Linked DNA regions of Homo sapiens: all the other regions are linked to region 3. The links are contacts of gene promoters, found by promoter capture Hi-C in blood cells and fetal thymus (Javierre and others, 2016). All regions are on one chromosome and are shown on one strand. Each heading gives the region's core, a stretch centred on a gene start or on the middle of the fragment in contact. The rest is flanking DNA. Distances are from core to core; before and after follow the strand shown. Region 1 holds the start of MEIOSIN (meiosis initiator). Region 2 holds the start of DMWD (DM1 locus, WD repeat containing). Region 3 holds the start of PPP5C (protein phosphatase 5 catalytic subunit).

Region 1 (2,700 bases), core at 103-2,602, 610 kb before region 3:
AGCCTGGGGGACAGAGCGAGATTCCGTCTCAAAAAAAAAAAAAAGAAGAAGAAGAAGAAGAAGCTCCAGGAGGGCAGAGATCTTTGTGTACCTTGTTCAAGCACCTAGAACAGCGTAAACATGTGTTCAGTAAATATTTATTGCATCGGAACTATATGCCAGACACCCTACAGACAACCCTGGTAGGAATTACAATCCCAAATTTATAAGGCAGAAAGAGATTAAGCCTCTTGTCGCTGGCAACACAGCCAAGAAAACGATTTGAACTGAAATGTATTGGATTTCAGGGTTTCTACTCTTGACTAGGTCGTTAGATCATCTCCCCTTAAGACGTATTTTCCAGGCTGGGTGCGGTGGCTCATGCTTATAATCTCAGCCGGGAGACTGGCTTTAGTCCAGGAGTTTAAGACCAAACTAGGCAGCAAAGTGAGACCCTCGTCTCTACCAAAAAAAAAAAAAAAAAAAGCCCAAATCTTTTATTCTTTTTCTTTCTTTTTTTTCCTTTTTTTTTTTTTTTTTTTTTTTGAGACAGAGTCTTGCTCTGTCGCCCAGGCTGGAGTGCAGTGGCGATACCAGCTCATTCAACCTCCACCTCCCAGGTTCAAATGATTCTCCTGCCTCAGCCTCTGGAGTAGTTGGGACTACAGGCGCGCCCCACCATGCCCGGCTAATTTTTGTATTTTTAGCCGAGACGGGGTTTCACCATTGTTGGCCAGGCTGGTCTGGAACTCCTGACCTCAAGTGATCCGCCCGCCTCGTCCTCCCAAGAAGGCCCAATTCAAATGGCCCTCCTCTTTGAATCCTTTCCCAACGTATTGTTCTCTGCATTAACCGAGTTCCCGTCTCACCGGATTCTCATGGTCTCGGAGGTTCTCACGGTCTTCTCGATTGTACTGGGAAGACAGTGGCTAAGTTCCCACCATCTAGCCTGGTGCTTGGCACACAGGAGGCCCTCATGAATCACGAACTGAAGGGAAAAGGTGGAAATGGGACATCATAGGGCCAGAAGGGACACAGGCGAGCTCGCTCTCTCTCTCTTCCTGAGAGTTGGCAGTTGAGGAAACCCAGCCTACTTGGGATGCAACGGCCCTGGACCACGCGGGTCGTGCAGGGGCGTGACCGCTTAAAAAGGCGGGTGGCTGAGCGGGCGCTGATTGGTCACCTAGCGGCTCACGCCGACCAAGGCCTTGTCAGAAGGCTCGAGGCCGAGCTCACGCTGTGCAAGACGACAGGGCCCTTCCCGAGGCGCGCGTGCGCACGGCCACTTGCACCCTGCCCTTTCAACCCCGTCGTCTCGTGCCCAGCACATCTTGGCTGGAACTGGTAGGGGCGTGGCCTGGCCTCAGGAACGCACTCTTGCTCTGCTCCTCACGCCTCGCGCAGGATCCTCGCGCCGGGAGGATTCGCACCCAACCCCAAGCCCGGTTGGGAACGTGGTGTCCGAGACCGTCTGGGATCCCCGCGCGCACGGCCGGCTTCCCGGGACCCGCGCGAGACGCTGTCTGATCGGGCTCCCTAGAGTGGGGCCCGGAGAAACCAGAACGGCGGGGGCAGCCTCACGCCATTTTGCACGCCCTGAGGCGGGTGCTGGAGGCCAAGGGGAATGGGGCGCGGGGCAGGGGGCCTCCCCCAGCACTAGCTGGGCTTAGGGGAACCCGGGATCCCCACAGGAGCTTCCCTCGGTGGGGGGCTCAGGGGAATAGAACATGCTCTGGGTGCAGGGCCACGGGCGACGGAGTTTGGGTTTGAAGCCGGGGGTCCAGGTTCGAGTTTGAGGAACGGAAGACTCTGTTTGTGTTGGGAATCCGGGCTCTCGAGTTCTGATCTGGGATCTCGGGATTTGTGTCTAGGGGTGACTAGTTCTGGAATCTGAAGAGCTTGAGTTTTGTGACTGGAAGCTTTCTCCTTGGAATCCAGAGATCCCAATTTGGGGATCTGGAAGTCTTAGTTCTGAGTTATGATGTAACATTTTGAGAGTCTGGAGCCTGATTTGGGGCAACTGAAGCCTCAGTATAGATTTAGGGCCTAAATCCCAATGTAGAGTATGAAGCTTTAGGATCTGGAGTCGCAGTTTGAGTCTTTAGAAGCACGTTTTAGGGCCTGGAGTGCCCACATTGAGTATGGGAGCTCCAGTTTTAGGGTCTGGGGTTTCAGAGTAGGACCCACATTCGAGATCTCAGTTTTAGGGTTGGGGCCACAATTTGAGGGACAGTTTGGACGTCTAAGAGGTCAATCTGGAGAAGTGAGATTTGTTTCATAGGGGCCTGGATTTCTTATCTTAGGATATAGGTTCATAGTGTTACAGCTTGCAGTCTGTAATCTTAGTATTAGGATCATATTTGAAGATCAGAAGTTGACAGTTTGAGGGTCTGGGGTATCTCAGTATTAGAATTTAGGGTTTGTAGGTTTGGGAGGGCTCCTTTTTTTTTGTTTTTGAGACAAGGTCTCACTTTGTCATCCAGGCTGGAGTGCAGTAGTGCGATTTTAGCTCACTGCAGCCTTGACCTCCTGGGCTCAAACCATCCCCCCACCTCAGGCTCCCAAGTAGCTGGGACTACAAGCATGTGCCACTATGCCCAGGTAATTTTTTTTTTTTTTTTGTAGAGGTGGAGTTTTGTCATATTGCCAGGCTGGTCTCAAACTCCTGAGATCAAGCAATCCTCCTGCCTTGGCCTCCCAAAGTGCTAGGATTACAGGCGT
Region 2 (2,700 bases), core at 38-2,537, 550 kb before region 3:
CCGCCACAGTTCTGGGACCCGTCAAACCTCACGGTCTCCCACATTTTAGGCCCATTTATTACCTAGGGGCTCCGAAGGATCCCCATCATTTCTGGGATCACCATAAACGGCCAGGGTTCTCACCACATCGCTTTAGAGATGTCCTGAATCACACCTGCAGATTCCCCTGCCAGGGCCTCTCATTCCCTTGAGAGCTCCCATCAGCTTCCGGACGCTCATCTCCTCCAGGACCCTCATGACTTCCAGACCCCAATTTTCTCTAGAATCCCATTCAGCTTCTGGATCCCCTATCACCTTCAAGGCCCCCATCACTTCTAGACTTCTCCTCATTCCTGGGCTCAATCTCAAGACCCCTCTCCCACACCTCCAGGCTGCAATACTGGGTTCTCCATCACCTCTGGGCTTGCATCACCTCATGATTCCCCATTACCTGCAGAATGCCTGCCACCCCAGAACCCGGGGGATCCCACCTCATCTCAGATACCCCATCATGTCCAATAGTCACCATCCCAGAACTCCTACGCATAACGGGGGTAAAGGGGATTTCCCCCATCACCTCCAAGATGCCTGCCCAGCACCCCGCGGGCCTCTCATCACATTTCAGAATCCTGTACTCCCTCCAATGCTGTCGCCCTACAACGTCCATCACATTTAGAATGCCTATCTCAGGGCCCCATATCAATTCGGGGACCCTCCTATCAGTTCTCTGGAACCTCCATCCTTTCAGCACCCAGGGCCCCACGATGCAGGCCGCTCACCCGTTGGCTCCCACGACGACAGCAGCCTGGGTAGAAATAGAGCTCACGGCCCAAGTTGAAGCAGACGCGGTCTCCCCCCGAGCCCAGCCCCGCGGGCGTGGCGGGCGGCTCCCCGGCCCCGGCGCTGTCCGGCTCCCCGAGGCGCACGAGGCTGAGGCGCACGGCGGGCAGGGCGGGCCCGGGTCCGGGGCCTGCGGGCGGCGGGGACGACGCGGGGCCTGCAGCGCCGGGACCGGAGGCGGAGGCAGGGCCGGGCGGGGGCTGCGGTGGCTGAGGCGGCACCGGAGTCTGGGCGGAAGCCGGACCCGACCTGCGAGCGGCGCCGTCGCCCGGGAGTAGCTTGTAGAAACCCTCGCGCGTGCGGAATTGCGACTTAATCTCCGCGCAGTCCCCCATGGCGGCGCCGGGGCCCGAGCCGCCCTCCGCGCCGCCCGCCGCCATCTTGGGCGCCCCCCGGGCCCCGCCACTGCCGGACTGCCGCCCGCAGCCGGGCCCCCTCCCGGAAGCCGCTGGCCCGCGCCGGAAAAGGTGGGGTCGTCGCCCGGGCAACGCCTCTTCGATTGGCACCCAGATCCGGAGGCGGGACGAATCCCCGCGGTCGCTCGGGTAACGGTGCTGGGACTGTGGGCGGGGCGAGAAGGTGGGCGCGGCCTTTGAGCCTGTGACCGACTTGTGGTTGGCTGCGGGGGCGGAGCCCGCAATGGAAAGAGGCGTGGCCAGTTAGAAAGCTCAAGTCCTTAGCAACCGCGCCCTGGGAACGTTTGCCTAGCAACGGAGGGATTTTTTTTTTTTTTTCCCCCACGACAAAGAAGCCCTCATCCATAGTCCAGCCTTCCCATGAAGTCACAGCCAACCCCAAGTGACCCTGGTCTCTCCTTAGACGCCCAATATACACTCCCCTGACCTCCAGTGTTTCCCACTGACATATTCAAATCCCTGAATGACCACAGCATCTGCTACCATTCTTCCCCACCCTTGGTGACCCACCAAATCCCTGTGTCCCCACACAACTCAGAGGACTTCCTCTGACCCACTATTGATTAATGCTAACTCCAAACATCCTTCATATTTTCCACCAACCTCCAATGTATATTTCCATGATTTTCTTATTTTCAACAACCTCACTTGTCCTCCAAAACCTACCTCTGATTCCCAAATTGTATTGATCCCCACGGTGCCCCAGTGTCCCAGTGATCCACTCGTAACCCAAAGTCTCCCCCTGATCCCAACAGCTCCTACTCATAGCCAGTGCTCCCCATGTCTGCTGAAGCCACCCAGCCCCATCATAGATCTTTCTAGTCTCATGTAGTCAATGGCCTCTACGATTTCTCCCTAGAGTGTCCCAAGGGCATCTCACACTTAAAAAAAAAAATCCTACAATGGTTCGGGCATGGTGGCTCATGCCTGGAATCCGAGAATCCCAGCACTTTGGGAGGCTGAGGTGGGAGGATCGTTTGAGCCCAGGAGATCAAGACTGCTATGAATTCACATCACTGCACTAAAGCCTGGGGGACAGAGTCAGACTCAGTCTCTCTAAAAAAAAAAAAAAAAGAAAGAAAAAAGAATCCTACAATGAAATTGACGTCTTACACCAAATCCTCCACCTCTCTTGCATCCCCACCTTAGGGCTAGCTCTGCCGTCCACTCAGTCAACCAGGCCACAGACCTGGGTGTCTTCCTAGATGTGTACCATTTATCTTCACTCTGCCCCCGCTTACAGCCTCCAAGTCTTTTGCATTCGACCACGTGGAATTCCTCTTTCTCAGTTCCTTGTTCTCCCTGATCCAAGCTTCTCCTCTACCCAAGCCCTTCCCCCACCCCCACATCAACCGTGTCTCTTGGTCTCCCAGATTTCTGTCTCACCCCCACTTCCACCTTTCACTTGGCATGTAGAGAGGTTTTATTTTGTTTTTGTTTTTGTTTTTTTTGAGACAGTCTCACC
Region 3 (2,700 bases), core at 88-2,587:
TAGGTTTAGGAGTGTGCTTCCAGGAGGGGATCCAGAGCCTTACAGGACTTAGTGCTACATGAGGGCTTAGAAAGGACAGACTGGAAGCGTGTACGGCGGGTGGGGATTGGCAAAGGGGTGGAATCTGGATATTAGACTATTCAGCCTGAGGTTAAGACTATTCAGGGTCTCCTAATCAGGAGTTTGGGTTTTCTCCTAAGGGTGCTGGGGCCATGGAAGCCTGGGAGCGAGAGTGTGCCATGGTTTTATCATGTCTTAGAAAGATCCCTCGGCCGGGCACGGTGGCTCACGCCTGTAATCCCAGCACTTTGGGAGGCCGAGGCGGGCGGATAGCTTGAGGTCGGCAGTTCGAGGCCAGCCTGGCCAACGTGGTGAAACCCGTTTCTACTAAAATACAAAAATTAGCCGGGCATGGTGGCGGGCGCCTGTAATCCCAGCTACTTGGGAGGCTGAGGCAGAAGAATCGCTTAAACCGGGAGGCGGAGGTTGCAGTGAGCCTAGATGGCGCCACTGCACTCCAGCCTGGGCGACAGAGGGAGACTCCCTCTCAAAAAAAAAAAAAAAAAAAAAAAAATGTGAAGGGTAAACTGGAGGGAGGCAGAGTGCATGCAATCAATGCTGTGATCTCAGACAAGAGAATCTGTAAAAACACAAACAGGAGAGTTTATTTGAAGATTCAGGATTTGGGAAGCTGAACACAGGAAGAAAGGAGATGGTGCAACACACTTCTAAGCCTTGCTCAGGACTTGAAATCCAGAGTGCCTTCAGTTAAAAACTCAAACACTGACCCTCAAGGTTGGACCCTTTTTGGCTTGAGAAACCACTAATTTTTCAGAGATGGGTAACTGAGACCCTAGAGAGGAAGGGAAGATTTGTTCAAGGTCACACAGGTAGTCGACAATAGGGCTCGACGCCCGGGTCCGGCTCCGCGTAGGGCATGGCGCTGCCTTGCAAAACAGCCACACCCGCCAGCGACATTCACAACCCACCCCCCAACCCTAGAGGACAGCGGGGAAATCCCACTTTCAGAACCGAGAAACTTTTTACAGCCTTGGAACACGGTAACTTTGGGAGGAGAGGCCACACCAGGTCTGTTTCCCCGCGCGCCCCTTCTCTCATTCCCTATTGGCTCTCTCTACCAGGGGTACCGTCTGGGGAACCTCTGGTCACCTTGTCCTCCGCGCGCTCTGTGGCGAAAGGGACCTGCGCAGGCGCGTGAAGGGCGCCTTCAGGGCCCGCGCTTTACGACACTTGTGCGGCAGCGGCGGCGGCCACCCGGCGCTCCTTCGCGACGGTTCGGCCGGGTGCCGCTGGCGGCCGTTGCCAGGGTAGGGGTCGCTTTGCGGCATGGCGATGGCGGAGGGCGAGAGGACTGAGTGTGCTGAGCCCCCCCGGGACGAACCCCCGGCTGATGGAGCTCTGAAGCGGGCAGAGGAGCTCAAGACTCAGGCCAATGACTACTTCAAAGGTGCGCCCGCCTGGCAGGGAGGGTGGACAGTGGCCCAGGCTGAGGGGTGCCGGGCCCGCGCGGAACCATAGCAACGCGGAGCTGCAGCCTGGGCGCGGGGCAGACACTACCAAGTGACCGGGCGTGGGGAGGCCCAGGATGGCGCTGCCAAGGAGCGACATAGGGGGCTTCGGAGAGTGATACCTAGGAGTGGCGTGCGGAGCGGGTGCTACTCAGTGGAGAGACTGAGGAGGGCGCCACCAATTGTGGGGCGAGAGGGGGACTGGAATGAGGGCGCTACCAAACGTGAGGCCTGTAGAGGGCGCTACCAGGCAGTGACATGTGGTGGGGGAGTGATTGATGGCGCTACCAAATGGGGAGTCCTGGGGTGGGTGCCGCCAAGTGGGGGGTAGAGGGGGCACAGCCCCAATAGAGAAGGCAATCGTGGGGGTGGGGAATGGATCATTAGATGGGGGGAACAAGGAAGTAGGAGATTTGGGCTGACCCGAGGAAAAGGAATGTGATGGTGGGGGCCTTGGGAGTAAGGGTGGGGATCCTTAAGAATAGTATCACTTAGAATATTGAGAGTCAAGTGTGGGGCACCCATTCATTCATTAATTCAACAAATATTTATTGAGTACCTGTTATGTGCCAAGGACTGTGCTTGACTTTGGGGATATAGCAGTGAATGAGACAGATGTGGCCCTGTCCTTAGCTTGTAATTTTGCAGGTGAACCAGACATGAAAAAAAAAAAAACAAAAAAAAACCATGTAAATAAGTAAAATACTTAAATTGTGATGAGTGCTTTGAAAGCAAACCAGCAGTGTGATGAAGTAGAGAATAAGGGTTGGAGGCTACTTTAGATAGGGTAGTGGGGGAAGGCCTTACTGAGCAGGAGGCGTTTAAGCTGAAACTCACAGAGGGAGAACTGGAGAGGAGTGTTCCAGGGAGGTAAAGCAGCCTGTGCAAAGGCCCTGGGATGGGGAATGAAAGGGTACTGGCATGGCTGGGGCTTTGGCTACTTAGGGGGAGACCAATAACAAGATGAGATTAGGACAGAGGCCAGATCATGCAGGGTCTCCGTGAGTCATTACAAAGACCAGTTTGGAATTTTTTTTTTTTTTTTTTTTTTGAGACGGGAGTTTTGCTCTTTTTGCCCAGGCTAGAGTGCAATGGCGCAATCTCGGCTCACTGCAACCTCCGCCTCCCTGGTTCAAGCGATTCTCCTGCCTCAGCCTCCCGAGTAGCTGGG

Evidence for each region. Contacts are between HindIII fragments. The CHiCAGO score rates a contact against its expected background, and 5 or more counts as called.
Region 1: a contact is called between the fragment with the promoter of MEIOSIN here and the fragment with the promoter of PPP5C in region 3, in 2 of 17 cell types (non-activated CD4 T cells and M1 macrophages). The highest score is 6.5, in non-activated CD4 T cells.
Region 2: the fragment with the promoter of DMWD here is called in contact with the fragment with the promoter of PPP5C in region 3 in 2 of 17 cell types (M1 macrophages and erythroblasts); the score reaches 10.1 in M1 macrophages.

The regions. Positions count from the first base shown.
Region 1 is chr19:45,732,087-45,734,786 of GRCh38, forward strand. It overlaps MEIOSIN (meiosis initiator), which reads left to right and starts at 1,353. Exons shown (of 15, transcript NM_001310124.2): 1 at 1,353-1,580. It also overlaps a transcript of FBXO46 not described here. The HindIII fragment of the contact is 2,985 bases long and covers 1-1,896 here.
Region 2 is chr19:45,791,558-45,794,257 of GRCh38, forward strand. DMWD (DM1 locus, WD repeat containing) reads right to left here and starts at 1,288. Exons shown (of 5, transcript NM_004943.2): 1 at 759-1,288. The coding sequence starts at 1,199. RefSeq lists a silencer at 937-1,416. The HindIII fragment of the contact is 5,053 bases long and covers 1-2,545 here.
Region 3 is chr19:46,345,750-46,348,449 of GRCh38, forward strand. PPP5C (protein phosphatase 5 catalytic subunit) reads left to right here and starts at 1,338. Exons shown (of 13, transcript NM_006247.4): 1 at 1,338-1,468. The coding sequence starts at 1,348. RefSeq lists enhancers at 1,176-1,355, 1,456-1,585. The HindIII fragment of the contact is 16,758 bases long and covers 1-2,700 here.